7 separate regions of the Homo sapiens genome follow, and regions 1, 2, 4, 5, 6 and 7 are each linked to region 3. The links are contacts of gene promoters, found by promoter capture Hi-C in blood cells and fetal thymus (Javierre and others, 2016). All regions are on one chromosome and are shown on one strand. Each heading gives the region's core, a stretch centred on a gene start or on the middle of the fragment in contact. The rest is flanking DNA. Distances are from core to core; before and after follow the strand shown. Region 1 overlaps KICS2 (KICSTOR subunit 2). Region 2 holds the start of C12orf56 (chromosome 12 open reading frame 56). Region 3 holds the start of ZFC3H1 (zinc finger C3H1-type containing). Region 4 overlaps TBK1 (TANK binding kinase 1). Region 5 overlaps PPP1R12A-AS1 (PPP1R12A antisense RNA 1). Region 6 overlaps XPOT (exportin for tRNA). Region 7 overlaps XPOT (exportin for tRNA).

What was found. The method cuts DNA at HindIII sites, captures the fragments that hold promoters and counts their contacts. A CHiCAGO score of 5 or more calls a contact.
Region 1: a contact is called between a fragment that was not itself captured here and the fragment with the promoter of ZFC3H1 in region 3, in 2 of 17 cell types (non-activated CD4 T cells and total CD4 T cells). The highest score is 12.3, in non-activated CD4 T cells.
Region 2: the fragment with the promoter of C12orf56 here is called in contact with the fragment with the promoter of ZFC3H1 in region 3 in 5 of 17 cell types (naive CD8 T cells, activated CD4 T cells, total CD4 T cells and 2 more); the score reaches 11.8 in naive CD8 T cells.
Region 4: a contact is called between a fragment that was not itself captured here and the fragment with the promoter of ZFC3H1 in region 3, in 8 of 17 cell types (activated CD4 T cells, naive CD8 T cells, non-activated CD4 T cells and 5 more). The highest score is 20.9, in activated CD4 T cells.
Region 5: a fragment that was not itself captured here is called in contact with the fragment with the promoter of ZFC3H1 in region 3 in 4 of 17 cell types (total CD8 T cells, M0 macrophages, fetal thymus and 1 more); the score reaches 11.1 in total CD8 T cells.
Region 6: a contact is called between a fragment that was not itself captured here and the fragment with the promoter of ZFC3H1 in region 3, in 4 of 17 cell types (activated CD4 T cells, non-activated CD4 T cells, total CD8 T cells and 1 more). The highest score is 8.9, in activated CD4 T cells.
Region 7: a contact is called between a fragment that was not itself captured here and the fragment with the promoter of ZFC3H1 in region 3, in 12 of 17 cell types (activated CD4 T cells, total CD8 T cells, naive CD8 T cells and 9 more). The highest score is 20.9, in activated CD4 T cells.

Annotation. Positions count from the first base shown.
Region 1 is chr12:64,213,097-64,215,796 of GRCh38, forward strand. It overlaps KICS2 (KICSTOR subunit 2), which reads right to left. Exons shown (of 3, transcript NM_152440.5): 2 at 2,582-2,700. Among named protein-coding and RNA genes, the nearest start is that of KICS2, 7.8 kb to the right of the region's middle. RefSeq lists a silencer at 2,107-2,304. The HindIII fragment of the contact is 6,969 bases long and covers 1-2,700 here.
Region 2 is chr12:64,389,376-64,392,075 of GRCh38, forward strand. It overlaps C12orf56 (chromosome 12 open reading frame 56), which reads right to left and starts at 1,383. Exons shown (of 13, transcript NM_001170633.2): 1 at 939-1,383. The coding sequence starts at 1,190. The HindIII fragment of the contact is 6,871 bases long and covers 1-2,700 here.
Region 3 is chr12:71,662,402-71,665,101 of GRCh38, forward strand. ZFC3H1 (zinc finger C3H1-type containing) reads right to left here and starts at 1,447. Exons shown (of 35, transcript NM_144982.5): 1 at 612-1,447. The coding sequence starts at 1,209. It overlaps THAP2 (THAP domain containing 2), which reads left to right and starts at 1,900. Exons shown (of 3, transcript NM_031435.4): 1 at 1,900-2,179. The coding sequence starts at 2,109. RefSeq lists enhancers at 1,070-1,189, 1,542-2,100, 1,550-1,909. The HindIII fragment of the contact is 1,665 bases long and covers 385-2,049 here.
Region 4 is chr12:64,459,640-64,462,339 of GRCh38, forward strand. TBK1 (TANK binding kinase 1) reads left to right here. Exons shown (of 21, transcript NM_013254.4): 3 at 550-690. Among named protein-coding and RNA genes, the nearest start is that of TBK1, 8.9 kb to the left of the region's middle. The HindIII fragment of the contact is 1,690 bases long and covers 592-2,281 here.
Region 5 is chr12:79,937,930-79,940,674 of GRCh38, forward strand. It overlaps PPP1R12A-AS1 (PPP1R12A antisense RNA 1), which reads left to right. Exons shown (of 2, transcript NR_146535.1): 2 at 2,433-2,745. Among named protein-coding and RNA genes, the nearest start is that of PPP1R12A-AS1, 4.0 kb to the left of the region's middle. The HindIII fragment of the contact is 904 bases long and covers 1,026-1,929 here.
Region 6 is chr12:64,439,034-64,441,733 of GRCh38, forward strand. XPOT (exportin for tRNA) reads left to right here. Exons shown (of 25, transcript NM_007235.6): 23 at 211-282. Among named protein-coding and RNA genes, the nearest start is that of TBK1, 12 kb to the right of the region's middle. The HindIII fragment of the contact is 1,226 bases long and covers 691-1,916 here.
Region 7 is chr12:64,406,633-64,409,332 of GRCh38, forward strand. All of the region lies in intron 1 of XPOT (exportin for tRNA), which reads left to right. Among named protein-coding and RNA genes, the nearest start is that of XPOT, 3.6 kb to the left of the region's middle. The HindIII fragment of the contact is 2,704 bases long and covers 79-2,700 here.

The sequences.
Region 1 (2,700 bases), core at 201-2,700, 7.4 Mb before region 3:
AAAAAAAAAGAAAAGAAAAAGAAAGAAAGAATAGTAACATAATAATTTTTACCCAACCATCTTATGCTCAGAAAGACTATGTATGTATGTGGTTGTAGGTAGCACACAACTCGTATTCCTAGCAAGAGGATGTAGTAAATGCTTCCTAGGTCTTCTGAAGAACTAATTTATTGACTTACAAAATGATCAGCAAAGAGAAATTATTTATCTGGACTAGATAAAAAACATCTCAATTTTTAATAACAAGCAATGATGCATACACAAAAGAATATGGGCTCTGAAGTCACAGAGCTAAGCTGTATGACTCTAAGCAAAGTGTTCCACTTCTCTGGGACTCTATAAAAGGTGCACTATTTATACCTGTACTTCAAACCAGGTAACCAAGAAGAGGGTCTTGCATAGTGTCTGGCACACAGTAGTTGCTCAATACATGCTAATTTCCTTCAGAATAGGTATATATAAATATTTCCACCTCCCCCCCTTTTCCTACAAGGTGAAAAATCAATTGCTGTTTTATTAAAGAACAATGACATTTTAGTTTTTAAACCATAAAACTGTATGAGTCTACTTCCAAGTTGTTTTATTTCTGGCCTTTCGTCTGAACTCTAGACCCCCATTTCCAAATGCCTGCTAAATCTTTACTCGAAAATCTGCTAGCAACTCACACTCAACTTGCCCCAATTTTAGCTTACTACCTTCCTTCTAAACCAGTTCCTCTTCAGTCCCTCTTGTCTTTTCAATTCTGTAAACAATATTATCATTAGAGGGGCAAAACCTAAGTATCATCTTTGACAGCAACCTCTCATTATTCCTGCCATCCTGTTGACAAGACTTATAGACTTCTTGTCAGCATCTCCTATCCCACTGTCTTGCAACCATGAGGCCCTCCTTCTGCCTATTAGGCTACCATCATAGCCTGCTAAACTAACCTTTTCTCCTGTAACCTCTCCCTTCACCATCCCATTGCACACACAGTGCCACAGTAATTAGTCTAAGATGAGAACATGATACTCCTGGTTCAAAACTTTTCATGGTTCCCCACTGCTTACCAAATTAAGTACAAATTTTCAACCTGGAACACAACTATTCACTCATTTATTCAGCAAACATCTATTCAGCATCTACTATGTGCTAGGTTCTGTTCCAGGTGCTAAAAGCACAGCAGCTGTGATGGAGCTCACATTCTAGTTTTTGAGAAAAGGAAAGAAAAAACACCCTAAACAAACAACAGTAACTTCAGATGGCAATAAATCAGGAGAATAAGATAGTGACTAAAAGCAGAATAGTTTTGGTAGGATAGTGAGAGAAGCCTTCTCTGTTTGAACCAAGACTTAAAGATGAGAAGATAACTACAGTAAGAACTTATAAGAGAGAAAGAATTGCAAGTACCAAAACCCTGAAGCCTTTTTGTATTCTGAAATATCCTCTCATCTCAAAACACCTGCCGTCTTCTTTCCTACAGTTGCTTTCGAAATCCTACCTGCCGTTAAAAGCTCAACTCGGCTGGGCATGGTGGCTCATACCTGTAATCCCAGCACTTTGGGAGGCCAAGACAGGGAGATCACAAGGTCAGGAGTTCGAGACCAGCCTGACCAACATGATGAAACCCCATCTCTACTAAAAATACAAAAAAAATTAGCCAGGCATAGTGGCATGTGCCTGTAATCTCAGCTACGCAGGAGGCTGAGGCAGGAAAATCACTTGAACCCAGGAGATTACAGGCACTTAGTGGATGCCCTCCTCCACTAAGAATACTTAAAATGAAATCTAAACTGTATGGCAGAAACTCTAAAAGCAATTACAAAGGAGTTTCCAACACATGTTAAAGAATGGCTTGTTCAAAGGAACAAGCAGATAAATCACTGATTACTTTAAAAGGGACAATATTTATTTGAATAATAATTTGTTAAAAATTCACATTATTTTCAGCCAGGTGCATTGGCTCAGGCCTGTAATCCCAGCACTTTGGGAGGTGAAGACGGGTGGATCACTTGAGGTCAGGAGTTCAAGACCAGCCCGGCCAATATGGTGAGACCCCGTCTCTACTAAAAAAAAAAAAAATACAAAAATTAGCTGGGTGTGGCGTGTACCTATAATCCCAGCTACTCAGGAGGCTGAGGCAGGAGAATTGCTTGAACCCAGGAGGTGGAGGTTGCAGTGAGCTGAGATCATGCTACTGCACTCCAGCCTGGGCAACAGAAAATACAATAATACGTATTTTCATATTATTTTACTATGTTACAATTTGGTTTCCAGAAAAAAGAAATTCCTATTATTTTATATACAATTCTCTTGTTGTGTGAACTCTTTCCTAAGCAGCAAAATCGGTTATAATACAAGTTTTACGATTACTTCATTCTCGGTCTTTTGCTATTGCTTAGCAGCCGTGTGGTGTTAATAAGACCAATGAAGGTGCCTAATGTATACCTGTTGATTAATGAATATGTATAAAATGTAATCCAGTTATTTATTTCACAGTTATTTCATCACAGATTTTCATAAGAGTGTGGAGAAAAACTCTGAGCTTGTGTGGGATTGATAGGACAGCCACGCTTTCTCCCTCCCTCCTCCCCACACTGACCTGGAGCTGTATTTTTTCATGATGGCATCCAAAAGGCCAACGAGCTCTTCAGCATTGATGAACTTCTGTGTGCTGAGGGTGTACATCTTCTCATAGAAGTCTGCTATCTCCATCCGAGC
Region 2 (2,700 bases), core at 133-2,632, 7.3 Mb before region 3:
AGACGTTTCCCAGCAGGCCCTGCGCCCAGTTTGGATCAAGTGAGCCGCCTGAGATTGCCAAGCGTCCTGTGCGCATCTCATTAACGCATCTGCTTATTCATGCATTTATTCTTTTGCTGGGGAGGGGGTGGAGGGGAACGGTGTCTCACTCATTCTGTAGCTCAGGCTGGAGTGCAGGTGGGGCGATCTCGGCTCACGGCAACCTCCGCCTCCCAGGTTCAAGCGATTCTTGTGCCTCAGCCTCCCAAGTAGTTGGGATTACAGGTGCACACGACCACGCCTGGGTAATTTTTGTACTTTTGGTGGAGACGGCGTTTCACCATGTTGGCCAGCCTGGTCTCGAACCCCTGACCCCCGGTGATCTATCCACCTTGGCCTCCCAAAGTGTAAGGATTATAGGCGTGATCCACGGCACCCGGCCTTATGCATTTATTCTTATTGAGCATCTAACATGCTCTAAGCATCGGGGGCAAAAAAGTAAATGAGATATAACAGCACTTAACACACAGCATTTATTTGCACGGGTGTTGGCTTTCTAGCCCTCCAGCGACTGCTTCTAGGTAGGGGCCCTCTTTCGTTTTTGCATCCTCCGAGTCTAGCACAGTGCCTGGCACTGACTAGGTGCTTTGTTAACAAAGGAATGACTTTAAAAGGTATTTTTGATAGGGAGCTCGGTTCTCAAACCTGTAGCCCTACGTGGGGTAGGGGAGGCGGGAGAATGGGTGAACAGGCAGACACGAGGAGAATGGGAGACGTGTTTGTATTAGGAGTGCTCACAGCAATCCACAGCTTCCCTGTGTTCCTCGTTCTCAAATAAGAGGAGGGGAGTCGAGGGCAGGATGGGGCAGCCCTCCCCGCGCAGGAGGGCTGGGTTTGGGGGCCCCAGCCGGGAGTTCTCACTGCGCTCCCGAGCCCGCCTGCCCACCCGCGCCGCTCACCAGGTCAATGGCCACGACGTCCCGCAGAGCCACTACCCGCCGGATGGACTTGGGCGGGTTCTCGGTTAGGTAGACGAGCCGGTCGCTTAGCACCACATACTTGAGGATGTGGTTCTCAGAGTTGGACACCACGATGCATGGCTCGTAGGCGCGGACCGCGTCGTAGACCTCGGGCGGCAGATGCCGCCGCAGGAACACATCCAGGCGGCTGTTCCTGCGCGCGGGGAAGCCGGACGGCAAGGGGCTGGCCATGCCCGGCGCCCGCAGCGTGGCGGAGTGCTGGGACTCGAGGCCCTCAGCTCGCCCTCTCCCCGCCCCCGCGCTGGAACCCGCGCGCCACAAAGCCGCCGGCCACGCGTCGCCTCCTCTCCAGGCGCGGGGACCCGGGCCGCAACTGCAGGAATCGACGCTAGGTCGGCTTCCCTGGAGCGCCCTCCCCAGCCCTGTCCAGCCTCTCGATCTTTGTCCTAACCTCAGACGGCGATGGGCGGGGCAAGACGCTGGTCCTTCAGGCCCGAGTTGATGGGCACCTCGGGCTCATCACCGTGAAGTCCCCTGCGGCCGAAGGGCGGTGGATTTTTAGGGTCTCTCCCGCCCACCCCTAATGCCAGTCCCCACCACTGCGTACTCTGTTGCGGATCACACCATCCAATACAAACTTTATTGGTAATGGAAGCCAGCTTCAATCTGGTTTCCTGTTAGAAACTTGAAAGAGTTTAATTTACCGATTTATTTTTAACAACCCTAGAAACCTATTAAACCCAATCACACAGATTTAGCTTTTGGTTATAACATGGCCTGGCACAGCTTTCTGATATTGTCGGAGTGTAAACATAGGTCTTCTTTCTCCAACCAGTGAGAAAGGGATTTTTTTTTTCTTTTCTCTTTTTTTTTTTGAGACGCAGCTTTGCTCTTGTTGCCCAGGCTGGAGTGCAATGGCGCCATCTCGGCTCACCGCAACCTCCCCCTCCCGGGTTCAAGCGATTCTCCTACCTCAGCCTCCTGAGTAGCTGGAATTACAGGCATGCGCCACCACGCCCAGCTAATTTTGTATATTTTAGTAAAAACGGGGTTTCTCCATGTTGGTCAAGCTGATCTCCAACTCCCGACCTCAGGTAATCCGCCCGCCTCGGCCTCCCAAAGTGCTGGGATTACAGGCGTTAAGTCACCTCGCCCAGCCTTTGAGAAAGGGATTCTTCACATGAATTGATGTGAGCACACCCAAACCAACCTAAGGCATATGGTTTTGTTTCCAATGCCCAGGACAATCTATGCAGGAAGAATGAATGGGTGATGCTGGCATCTTGAAAAGTTGAAGCTGATAGACTGAAGAATGCGGATTACATACCCTGAGGCTGCAGAGGAGTAAGTATTCCTTAGTTTTTACAGGCCAAGAATAACTTACTAATTAGGTTAGAGAAATGAGAAGGGCACAACAGAAATGCTCTAAGTCAGAAGTTCCATTTTTTATTTCGAATCCTAGAAAAGTTATTCTCTTCCCCTCCCCATTGACCCAAAAACCTGATAATGAAACCATATCGTTCATTGCTGTGGCTGCCAGCAACCCTGAATCAAATTTGATATATTCTTTATATTCTCCCTTTCTACATATTTTATTATTGTATACTGTATGTTATAAGCAACTTCAAATCCCTTGTGGAAAGAAGGTATAAATATATTACAATCCATAAACAGATATTGTAGACTACACTAGTACAAAGGGAAAGAGAAATGTTTTGGTCTGGCTAAACTTTTTTTTTTT
Region 3 (2,700 bases), core at 197-2,696:
CGTAAAGGAGGTAAAGTGTTCCAAAAAGATCAAATGAATCAAAAAGCTCTGAAACAGACTTGGTAAAGACACCAGAGTTGTTTTTTTTTTACCCCTCCCCCCCCCACTTTAAAAGGCAGCAACCGGAATAAATCAAGATAAAAACAGAATCACAAAAATAGTGCAGGACTGTGCAGATTAAAACTTTACAATTTTCAACGTCAAACTGCAATATGATAAAGCAACAATATTACTTAAACTGTTTATGAATATTTTTTCTCTAACAATCCAAGTCAACTTCATATAAAACACAAAGTTTCTGTACCAGCAAAAATACAAATGCTAATGAAACTTGGGCTTCTAAGGTATTATTACAAATCAGACTTAACTGTCTTAGATTTCATAAGCTTAACCCAATCCACAGCACGTTAATATACCCAATGAAGCAGTCTTAAGAATAACGCTATAGTGTGACACATGGGGAATTACCAAAGAACAACTTAAAGTATACTGACACAGGGAGAAATAAGCGGTTCTGATGATTCAAAGTTACACTCGTCTCACAGACCTAGTAATGACGCTAAAGGGAACTTTAGTGACACACCCAGCGCCGACCGCCACGTTAAGGATACAGCTCTTCCGAGGTGGAGAGGGCTCTCGCCAGCTCTGACTGCTGCTGAACCCGGATCCTGCTCCTCCTCCCAGAGGAGGTCTGCACCCCGGCTTGCCTCCTCGCTCACCCACTCCTCGCCCCCGACTCCAGCGACTCCCACCCCGGTAAGGCCTGCCTCGAAAGCGGAAACGGTCCAAGGCGAGGTGGCTCCGCTCCCAGAAAGACGGCCGGGGACTGCTTTCGGACAGTGAGCTCGAAGGCATCCGTACAGAAGGCGGATGAGACCGGAACGGTTCTTTGGGTCGGTAGCTGCTGGGTCCCCTGAGGTGGCCCCGCTCAGACGCGTGCCGCGAGCGTGAGAAATTCCTCAGCTGCTGCTGAGAAGAGGACGATGACGAGGAAGAGCCACCGCCTCCGCCAGATCCACCGCCCCGGGCCGAGTGAGGAGGCCTTCGCCGCGGATAGGGTAACAGCCCGCCGCCGCTGCTGCTGCTGCTGCTCCGACTCCGTATCTGGCTGTTATTATCGTCGTCACTGATTTCCCCATCTTCAAGCTCCCCTTCTTCCTTCGGCGAGAGGCCACTGGAGGCCGGGGCCGGAGTATCTGCGGTCGCCATCCGGGGAGCAGCGCCTTCCACACAACCTTAGCCCTCCGTCCGGGGATCCGCCCGACAATTGCCTCGTTTCCCTTCTTTCCTAACGGACTGGGTCGGTGCGGTCTTACCCTACTCGGACACCAAGCGGCCTCTGCTCCCCAACTTCCCCGCACCCCAGCACCCCAGCTCTCTCTCGCCGGACCGTCGCAACCCAGTTCCCTTTCCTAGCGCCCCCTTGCTCCTCAGCGATCGGGGTTCTTCCGCCTCGCGAGAAAGGGACTCTGGTAGCGGCTGTACCCGAAACGTCACTTCCTGCGACACGCAGGAAACAAAGGCTCCCAGTTCACGCGATAATAAGACCAACTCGATACTCACTAGGATTTGTAGTCTTTCGTCTTTCTTCGGGTTTACTCTTCCGGTCCTAGGGTCACACCCACCGCAGGGTCTGGCTTGGTACAGTTGGGTGCATGCAGAAGTAGGTGGAGCTGCTGTTGCAGCCTTGAGAGAGTTTTATTGTAAAACTCTTGTAATTTATAGTAATCGGAGGGGAAAACACCTCTTCCTTTTAATTGCTCTGAGGACCGCTGCCAAAGAAACGCAGTAGATCCGCTCCCTCTTGGGGGCGGGGAGAAAGAACGGGTTGTGTCCGCCATGTTGGTGAAGTCAAGCGAAGGCGACTAGAGCTCCAGGAGGGCCAGTTCTGTGGGCTCTAGTCGGCCATATTAATAAAGAGAAAGGGAAGGCTGACCGTCCTTCGCCTCCGCCCCCACATACACACCCCTTCTTCCCACTCCGCTCTCACGACTAAGCTCTCACGATTAAGGCACGCCTGCCTCGATTGTCCAGCCTCTGCCAGAAGAAAGCTTAGCAGCCAGCGCCTCAGTAGAGACCTAAGGGCGCTGAATGAGTGGGAAAGGGAAATGCCGACCAATTGCGCTGCGGCGGGCTGTGCCACTACCTACAACAAGCACATTAACATCAGCTTCCACAGGTAACCTGGGCAGGGAGTGGGGGTGACGGAAACTGGAGTTCCTATTGTGGCTATCGCTTGTGTGGAAGGAACAGGAGGATTCTGCTAATTCTAATAACTTTCCCAGCTGGTAGCAGGGAAGCATCGTATGTCCTTTGTGTTTCTCAAATCTGCCCAATTGTTCTCTGCTTTCGGGGAAGCTTTACTCATTTTCTAAAAGAAATCCAAGTACTGTTTGGTCATTACCCCTTAGTAAAAAAAAGTAACAGGAGGATATCGTAATTTTCTACTGTTTTATTCCTCTGTTAGACCGGGCCTTGACATGAATGACGCCGTAAGGGAGAAAGAGATCTTCCCAATCAGCAATCACCGTAAAAGCCTGCTGTGTTCCCGTTAAAATTAGGAAATTCTCACTAGATGAATTGACATGGGAGGCATTTAGATTTCTAATAGTCACATAGTAATTCTGCGGAGGAATTGAGTCATCTTTGATAGCCATGGAATTAAGCGATGTTAATTAAAGTGCAAAAGATAACCTTTCT
Region 4 (2,700 bases), core at 187-2,686, 7.2 Mb before region 3:
CTCGCTCTGCAACTCCTGCTTTCCCCACTCCCCTCCCCCACGTTGTCCTAGCTACAAAATAATTCTGAAAAGTTAACTGTATTACTTTGATATTCTTAATAAAAATCTCATAGGTGGAATATAGTGTTCAGTCTCTCTCTCCTGCTTTGATTAGTTTAAAATTATTAGGCCTTGGAGAAGCCCTTATGAGTTTCACTTTCTATTTCGTCTTTAAAAGATGATTTTGCTTTTGATACTATTATGGCTTTTATCTTCTGATGTGTGACTATTTTTGCCCCTACTGTATCCTCATGAAAGGTTTATTTATAATATGAAAGAAAATATCCATTTCTGAATTCCAAAAGGTGTAATTTGAAAGAAATGTTGAGCAGTTAATTGATTCATTTTAACTTTTTAGAAAAGTCAAAAGTCCTCATACAGATTCCCTGTGCCTAAAAGATGCATGATGTTCTGTAAGAAAATAAGTTGCAATAGCGAGTTCTAATGCTACCTTTTAATCTCTTTTACAATATTATGAATAAATAAAACATTTCTCTCTCTTTTTTAAAGAAAACTGGTGATTTATTTGCTATCAAAGTATTTAATAACATAAGCTTCCTTCGTCCAGTGGATGTTCAAATGAGAGAATTTGAAGTGTTGAAAAAACTCAATCACAAAAATATTGTCAAATTATTTGCTATTGAAGAGGAGGTAAGTAGTAAAACTTCAATCTTATATTTATTGTAGTTACGAGTCAAGAAATAGAACCTAATATTAAAAAATGGATTTTTTAAAAAACTGTTGAAAATTAGGGTTTGTACAACCAAATACTTTATCCTAAAGGATTCTTGAATATATAGAACAATAGAAATAAAATATCATAAAAATGGAATCAGAAACAGTAGTGTAAGAAATAAAAGGGGGCGGCCGGCTGCGGCTGGGTGCAGTGGCTCACACCTATAATCCCAGCACTTTGGGAGACCGAGGCAGGTAGATCATGCGGTCAAGAGATTGAGACCAGCCTGGCCAATGTGGTGAAACCCCGTCTCTACTAAAAATACAAAAATTAGCTTGGCATGGTGGTGCGCACCTGTAGTTCCAGCTACTTGGGAGGCTGAGACAGGAGAATTGCTTGAACCCAGGAGGCAGAGGTCACAGTGAGCTGAGATCGCACCACTGCACTCCAGCCTGGCAACAGAGGGAGACTCCATCTCAAAAAAAAAAAAAAAAAAAGAAAGGATCATTTGAGCTCAGGAATTCAAGAACAGCCTGGGCAACATGGCAAAACCCTGTCTCTGTAAAAAATACAAAAATTTGCCATGCATGGAGGTGTACGCCTGTAGTTCCAGCTACTCAGGAGGCTGAAGTGGGAGGATCACCTGAGCCTGAGAGGTCAAGGCTATGGTGAACCATATTGTGCCACTGTACTCTAGCATGGGTGATGGAGTGAGACCCTGTCTCAAAAAAAAAAAGAAAGAAGGAAATAAAAGGGTATTGAATATGGTTACCAGTATTATTACTAGAAAAAGAAAGGTAACAAGTTAAATCTAATAATTATAAAGAGAAAAAATAATTATAAAAAGAAAAAATCGAACTTTAAAAAAATAAAAATTTTGTATTTCATGAATAAAAATTTCAAGAGTCCTACAGTTTAAGATATGAAGTCCAATTATAAAAGAATTGATTTTTTTAAGGGGAAATAGTGGAATTAAGAATGTCATTAGGAAAAGTAATCTAGAAATAATGGAAATAGAAATTATTTTAATCCCTTTAAACATGAGCAATCAATAAAATCTTTGGGAAAAAATGTAGTTTATACTCTTTATCCGAGTGATTTTATTTTTAGTGATTATTTCTTAGGAAGTAATCAGAAATATAATTTTATGCATGAAGATGTTAATTGGCATCCTGTTTATAATAAAGAATGGTTAAATAAGTTGAATAAATTAGAATGTGTGGCAGATAGTTACCTGGAATTAGCCAAACTCAAGATTAAGAGCATAGCCTTCCACACTGCCAAGTCTGCTCAAGACTTTTGATACCAATTGCAAAGGAGTTTGGCAAACTGCACAGAGAGAACAGTTCCCACAAGATTACCCTCACATCATCCCAGCCGGCTACAAATGTGGGGGTTGCCCATGACACTCAGGTTTGGTAATTTGCTGGAATGTAGAAATGACTCACAAAACTGAGGAGAGTGCTATACTTATAATTACAGTTTTATTGTAGCAAAAAGATAGAAATTAGAACCAGCCAGAGGAAGAGACACAAAGCGTGGAATGTGGGAGGGTTCCAATCTTGAAGCTTCTTTGTCCTGAGGGACACATTACTCTCTCAGCATTGATGTATGACAGTATGCATGAAGTATTGCCAGTCAGGGAAGCTCACCCAAGCCTTTGGTGTCCAGGGTTTTTACTGAGGCTGGATCATTTATTGCCTGTATTGCTGACCTTTAGTCCCCAGCTCCTTCCAGAAGTTTGGGGTAATTCCTTTAGTCTCCATTAAGCCCCCATCCTAAATCATGCTGTGAGACTCTCCAGTGGCCAAAGCCCCCAGAGGAACAAAGACAGAAGTCTTGTTCTTTCAGATAGGACATTTTAGGGGCCAGAGATCACTGTCCAGTAGCCAAGGGCAAAGCCTGACTTCTCTTTGGGTAAAGTTAATTTTTTACCACACAATAGTTAAGTGGTAATGAAAAGAGATATTTACCAAAATTTTAAT
Region 5 (2,745 bases), core at 228-2,727, 8.3 Mb after region 3:
GATTACAGGCTTGAGCCACTGTACCTGGCTGGGGGTTTTATTTATTACATGCACAAGATTGTCAGAATGAGATCTGTGTATATCTTTTTCAAAGTTTAATCACACTACTGACATTCCTTACCATTAATTTGCTTGCTAATTATGATCAACTTAATTTAAATTATAAACATATTTGAAATGCTGACATGCACAGCTTAGATTTGTTTCTGCTATTATAATCTCTTTGTTAAAAATGTACATAAGATATTAATAAATACTTTGATATATCTATGTTCTCTTTATCCCTAATTTAAACCTGAGATACTAATTTACATTTATACACTTGAGAATAGAACAGTCAACAAGGACCTTGTTTCTGTCTCCTGTATTCTACACCTGGGCCAAACTCTCTTCCATTGCATAATAATTTCTTTCCAATGTTTTATTTAAGAACCTGAAGAAAAGGCTGGGCACGGTGGCTCATGCCTGTAATCCCAGGGCTTTGGGAGGCCCACGTGGGCAGATCACCTGAGGTTAGTAGTTCGAGACCAGCCTGGCCAACATGGCAAAACCCCCGTCTCTACTAAAAATACAAAAATTAGCTGGGCGTGGTGGCACGTGCCTGTAATCTCAGCTACTCGGGAGGCTGAACCCGAGAATACATGAGAATTACTTGAACCAGAAGGCGGAGGTTGCAGTGAGCCAAGATTGTGCCACTGCATTCCAGCCTGGGTGACAGAGCAAGACTCTGTCTCAAAAAGAAAAAAAAAAAGAACTTGAAGAAAAGTTTACAATCCATTCACATCATAATTTATTTAGTCCTACCCAGGGAGTTGACCAGAACCAACATGGAACCACCCTAACTTGCTTCAGACTCCATTGCTAGATCAATCCTGATTTCTAGATCATAGCATCTAATCTTTGCCTTGCCTCTGGATTACAAGGTGAGTTTCTAATTTACTTTAGGGTAAATTTTCTGCCACATCTGACTCCATTTCAAGAAACTAACCCTATCACAGTACAAGTACTGGCTAATATGCTCATAAAGCTTCTTTTGTTCCCCAAAACTAGGACTCAGATGAGTGTCTGGCAACAATCCAAAGTGCAGTTATACTGCTAAAGAGATAACTCACCTCCATTGCACATGACTCCCAACCTGTATCATGTGACAGAACATCACATGCCCCTTTCATATGAATTAATGTTTCCCAAACTTTATCAGTTTTATTGCCAAATTCAAGAACCGCAAATACTAGTATTTGCTTAATGTTTTCTTTAACCTTTTTAAGACAAATTTATTTTAAAGCAACATTATGTTGCTTTGGTAAGTGAAAAACGTTTCCACTTGACATAAAGAAGACTGTTAAAGCAAATACAATGAAAACAAAACATTAGTTAGGTTGTCTGTCAAGGGTCTGAGCCCAAGCTGTGCTCTCAATTTGTTAAAAAAGGGATATTGGTAAGGGTTGGACATGTGAGCATCAACCTAAGATTTTTCAGTTTAGCATAATCGGAAAGATTAAAAGGTAGTGAAAAAAGAATATTGTGCTAAGTGCTTCACTGTTGTTTTAATGTTACATCTACCTTATAACATTACCTCATGTACCACCAGTCTACATGTCCTACACTTTAGGAAACTGACTGACTTTAATTAGTATGTGTAATAATAATTACGATTAATTAAGTGAAGGTTATAGGATAGGCCTTAGTGGCACCCCCAACTCAAGGTGTCAAGGCAAGGCATTGGCAGGAAGGCCAATTTGTATGAAAATATCTGTGTGCTGAAGGAATTTCAGAAATAAGAGTCATTCTCCATGGCACTGAAATTAGAAGAATAAATTACAAGATCAATATCTGGAAGGCAAGTTTAGGTGCATGAGTTCTATCTTGGATCACTAATATTTAGTTGAGGGATCCATTCAATTGTCCTTCAAATCAAATCCTAGGAAAAGCTTTAAAATTCCTTCACAGACCAGAGTGCAAAAACAAGGTATTCATGAGAACCAAAACATGCTGACCGTGCTCAATTTTGACAGGTGGGAATATCAACTTCATGTGGTTGTCTTAAAGATTAAATGAATAATGTATGTGAGAGAGAAAAAAATTTGAGATTTTATTTGTGTTCTTGTATTTGCCTTTTCCTTCCCTTATTTAAGCTGATAGCAACTCTGCTTCCTTGCCTCAGGACAGGTTTGTGGCAAGGAAGAAAGCAGAAGTTGCTTTCAAAACATTTTCCCTCCTACTTGAAATGTCCACCCACCAATTTCTATTTAATAAGAATTTAGGGCTAGTGATCTGATTGGAATTAGTATATGAGGTTGCTAGAAACTTATTTAAGTTCTATTTGCATAGCATTATAAATCAATAAAAATAGCACTGTTTTCTAAATTTGCCTTTATTTTCACTTTACAAAAATTTTCACCATAACTCCATGGAATGTTATTTTTACTTAGGGTGGAACCAAGCAGAGGGGTTCACCCAAGCCATCTTTGGGTGCTTCCATGGGAAAGAAGGATTTCACTGAGAATAATAAGTGACACCAAGGCTCAAAAGAATGAGAGAGAAGTCTGTTGGTCTCTTGAACAGCAGGGATTTGCTCACAGATCTCTGGAAGTAGCCAGAATGTGACAGGATCTCAAAATGAATGGCTGCTTCATGGAGGCTGGAACATAAGCCTGGGACTCCCAGTAGCCAAACATAGCTGTGCCACAAACATGGCTGAAATGTAGCAGTTTGGTGGATCCGAGGTCAGTCATTGAAAATGTA
Region 6 (2,700 bases), core at 54-2,553, 7.2 Mb before region 3:
GCATGTTCTGCACATGTAACCCAGAACTTAAAGTATAATTTTAAAGAAGGTGCCAGAGCCAGGCTTCAAACCAAGGCAGTCTGGCTCTCGGGTCTGTGTTCTTAAGCACAATACTATATTGCCTTTAAAGTGTACATGTATTGTTCCGATTCTTTTTAAGCTTATTAATGTCAAGCAAGAAAATAGTTGTAAGTATCTTTTAATCTTCAGGGCCCAGAATGTGTTCAGTATCTTCAACAAGAATACCTGCCCTCCTTGCAAGTAGCTCCAGAAATAATTCAGGTAAGAGCTATTTCTTACCATTGTGTAGGCGAGAGATCACAGTAGTAGCAGCATTGCCTGTGACATTGTCGCTAGCAGAAATCAAAAATATTTTCATATTACATAAGTTGTTGCCAGCATCTCAAAATACTGTTTATGCTTATCACCATTTTGAAATTATGAGTTACTAAGTAATATCACTACACCTTGTTACCCAACAAGTTAATAAGTCCTTACTGTTCTAGCATACTTTAGTTTGATAACCATTATTCAGTATAATTGGCTTCTATCGTAATCCCATGTATTATGTTTTATGCATTTTTTTAAAAAAACATTCTAAAGGAGCCTAATAGGCTTTTCCAGACTGCTGAAGGGGACCACAGCAGAGTTCTGAAGCTTTGTACCAGGTAGTTCATTGTGTGTACACCAAGCTTATCAATGCTTAATCTGTAAATCTGAAACTATTTTAAGGAAAGTGTCTGGAAAGTTACCTTATACTTTTAAGAAGTCATTTGTATAATATTGTTTCTTGGCATATAATTTTCCAGATTTCTTGTCCAGTAGTACATGGAGTTAATGAAGTATCAAACTTGATTAAAACTAGAATTACAATCTCTTATGTAGATTCCAAAATTTGTTTCTTCATCAATAGTGTTTTTATTTTATTGTAAGAACACTTACATGAGATATATACCATCTTAACAATTTTTACGTGCACAACACAGTATTATTAATTATAGGGACAGTGATGTGCCTATAAAATATAGGTGGATCTCCAGAACATATTCATCTTGCATAACTAAGACTTTATACCCACTGATTAGCAATTCCCATTTCCCACAGCCCCCATCTCCTAGAAACTACCATTCTACTCTCTGATTCTGTGAATTTGACTACTTTAGATACCTAATATAAGTGGAATCATGCAGTTATCTCTCTTTTTGTGACTGGCTGTTTCACACAATGTCCTTTAGGTTCATCCATGTTGTTACATATGGCAGGATTTCGCAATTTTTTAAGGCTGAATAACATGCCACTGTATGTATATATCACATTTTCTTTATGCATTAATCCACTGATAGATTCATTGGGGCTATTTTCACATTGTAAGTGCTACAGTTAACATGGGAATGCTAATATGTCTTTGAGATGCTGATTCCAATTCTTTTAGATAAATACCCAGAAGTGGGATTGCTGGATTATATGGTAGTCCTATTTTTAATTTTTTGAAGAAACATCTTACTATTTTCTATAGTGGCTATACACCATTTTGCATTTCCATCAGTTGTGTAGCAGGGTTCCAGTTTTTCCACAATGTCACCAACACTTGCTGTCTTTCATTTTTTTGTAATAGCCATTCTAACAGGTGTGAGGTGATATCTCATTGTGGTTTTGATTTGCATTTCCCTTATGATTAGTGATGTTTGTTTTTTCATACACCTGTTAACCATTTGTATTTGGAGAAGTCTATTCAAGTCTTTACCCCATTTTCTAATCAAGTTATTAAGTTTTTTGCTATTGAATTAGAGGAGTTTTTTTATATGTTAGAAATTAACCCCTTATCAGATAAATGGTTTGCAAATATTTTCTCCCATTCTTTAGCTATTCCAGAGGTTGCCTTTCTGCTCTGTTGATTGCTTACTTTATGGTGCAGAAGCTTCTTAATTCAATGTAGCCCCACTAATGTAGCTTTTCGTGATATCAATGAAATCATTTCAAAGACCAGCATCTTGAAGCTTTTCTCCTATGTTTTCTTCTAGTTTTGCAGTTTGGAGACTTACATATAAAGTCTTTAATACATTGAGTTGATTTTTGTGTAAGATAAGGGTCTCGTTTTCTTTTGCACGTAGATATCCAGTTTTACCAGCACCATTATTGGAGAGATTATTGTTCCCCATTGTGTATTCTTAGTACCCTTGTTGAAGATCAGTTGACTGTATACAGGAGTTGATTTTCAAATTCTATTTTGTTCCATTGGTTTATATGTCTGTCTTAAAAGAGAGAGGGTCTCACTCTGTTGTCCAGACTCAAGTGCAGTGGCACCATCATAGTTCACAGCAACTACAAACGCCTGGACTCAAAGAATCCTTCTGCCTCTGCCTCCCAAGTAGCTAGGATATATGTCTGTCTTTTGCTAGTACCATACTGTTTTCACACTGTAATATTAAAATATATTTTGAAATCTGGAAGTGTGGTACATCCAGCTTTGCTCTTTCTCTGGATTGTTTTGGCTATTCAGGGCCTTTTGTGATTCCATGTAAATTCTAGTTTTGTTTTTTCTATTTCTATAAAATATGCTCTTGGAACTCTTATACGGATTGCCTTGAATCTGTACGTCACTTTGTTTTTTATTTTTGGAATGATTAAGAAGCTTTTTAAAATTTTTTAAATTTATTTTTATTTTTTTTGAGATGGAGTCTCGCTTTAGTGCCCAGGCTG
Region 7 (2,700 bases), core at 181-2,680, 7.3 Mb before region 3:
TCCTTAGTGCTGGGATTATAGGCGTGAGCCACCCTGCCTGGCCAGCATTTTTTTAAAAAGCCATAGCAAATTCAAGGAAGCTTTTATTGGACTTCTCAATCAGGGATTCTTAGAAACTCCGAAATCGTTTTTTCTCTCTGTGGGCATTTTTCAGGGGAATGGACATCAGATTTTCTTAACATTTAGGGGGCGAAGGGAACCAGTGCCTTTCTTTGTGTTTTTCTGTCTTTTAAAAATGCTGATCTGGTATAAGAATGCCCCAAGTCGTTTCCATTCCACATGTTCCTACCTCTGACTATAAACAACGTATTGAGGGCTCACTATGTGCCAGCCATGCTCTGCATACCTTATCTCTTTGAAGCCTTTACAACTTTATGAGGCATATGGTCTTTTTCCCATGTCATAGAAAGGGTTCTCTCAGGTTTTGTAAGTTGTCCAAGTGGCCCCAATTAAAAAATGACAAGATGGGGATACAAACCCAGGTCTTTGAAATCCAAAACCTATGCTCTACTATGTCCTAGGGACATAGTGATGGATAGTCAAGACAGTCCTTGCCCTTTAAGATTGTGAGAAATGGCCGGGTGGCTCACACCTGTAATCCCAGCACTTTGGGAGGCCGAGTCTGGCAGATCACCTGAGATTAGGGGTTCGAGACCAGCCTGGGCAACATGGTGAAACCCCATCTCTACTAAAAAATACAAAAATTAGCCGGGTGTGGTGGCTCACCCCTGTAATCTCAGCTATTTGGGAGGCTGAGGCAGAAGAATCACTTGAACCCAGGAGCCAGAGGCTGCAGTGAGCCGAGATCATGTCACTGCACTCCACCCTGGGCAACAGAGTGAGACTGTCTCAAAAAAAAAAAAAAAAGATTAATGAGAGAAAACTAGTAAGCTGGCAGTGACAGCATAGCAGTGCTTAGGATGGGGCATGTAATCCAATTTGGGAGAGTTGGACAATAGAGGTCAAAGAAGTGTTCTTGAAAGAGATGGCTTCTAAGTTGAATTTCAAAGGACAGCAGGGGTTAACCTACTAACAAGAAGAAAGAGCAGTGTGCAAAGATGAAAGGTAGAATACCACTGGAGAACTGCCATATGGTTCACTAGCACTGGCCTTGCTGACCTGGTGTGCAGAATAGTGAGGAGTTATTCAAAAGTGTTTGGATCGTAATCTGAGGGCAGTAGGGAGTTACACTGCCTTGAAGTCTGCAAGTACGTTATGAACCATAAGAGAAAGGGCTGAGCTGTCTTCAAAGCTCTCAGTCCATATCCTGAGTTATTTGATTCAGGCAGGCTCAGAGGAAAACAGAAAAGCCTATTGTAGGTATCCTGTAACCTGGACCTGAGCCTGGTTTTGCTATTCCCAAAAGGCCTTTCTCCCCTACCCCTGCTATTCCCAAAAGGCTTTTCTCCCCTACCCCCAATCCAATTAGTTTTTTGGCGTCTTTGGTTAACGGTAATTGAAACAAAAAGCCCCACAGCCTTTTTTTGTTTTTTTTGAGACAGAGTCTCGTTCTGTCACCCAGGCTGGAGTGCAGTGGCGTGATCCCAGCTCACTGCAACCTCCACCTCCTGGGTTCAAGCGATTCTCCTGCCTCAGCCTCCCAAGTAGCTGGGATTACAGGTGTGTGCCACCATGCTCCACTAATTTTTTTGTATTTTTAGTAGGGGATTTTACCATGTTGGCCAGGCTGGTCTTGAACTCCTGACCTCAAGTGATCCACCTGCCTCGGCCTCCCAAAGTGCTGGGATTACAGGCATGAGCCAGCACGCCTGGCCCCCCACAGCGTTTAATGGAAGTAGTAAGACTTGGTCTCCCTACCTTATAGGTCTTGAGAGAATAATATCATTTTTCACATCATTTAGAGTTTGTTCCATGTTTGCTCAAATGAATATGCATTCTATCAAAAACTAGGATGCCTTTTGCAGCTTATTATTTGAGAATGTTGGAACCTATATTGTGAAGAAGTGGATTACCTCTCAGAGATTAAAAAAAATCCTTAAATAAGAGTAGTCAGTGTTAAGTCATTTGTGGATTTTTTTTTGTGTGTTTTGTTTTTTTTGAGATGGAATCTCACTCTGTTCTCCAGGCTGGAGTGCAGTGGCGCAATCTTGGCTCACTACAACCTCTGCCTCCTGGGTTCAAGCGATTCTTGTGCCTCAGTCACCCGAGTAGCTGGGATTACTGGCATGTGCCACCAAGCCTGGCTGATTTTTGTCTTTTTAGTAGAAACAGGGTTTCACCGTATTGGTCAGGCTGGCTTGAACTCCTGACCTTAAGTGATCTGCGCACCTCAGCCTCCCAAAGTTCTCAGATTACCGGTGTGAGCCACTGTAGCTGGCTGGTTTGTGGGTTTTTGTATCTACTATTGAAAAACTTTTTTTTTTTTGAAATTTTTAGAATTGGCTGGCAAGAGCAGAGATCTGTAAAATGCAAAACTAAGTCCATTGCTCAAAAGCTAAATGACTGGTTTTTCATTATCCTGTTCCTTTCATTAGACTTCTGTCATAGTACTTAGTAAACACTCCAAAGGATATTGAACTCTGAGGTCAGCCATTCTAATGTTTTAAAGAAGGTTTGTGATATTTGTATCTGGAAGTAGACAAATTATTATAATTACTGTAATAGTCTGCATTTGTCATTTTTATACTTAACTGCAGTTGCACAATTGCATTTTTAAGTACTAGAGATAAGTAAAACACT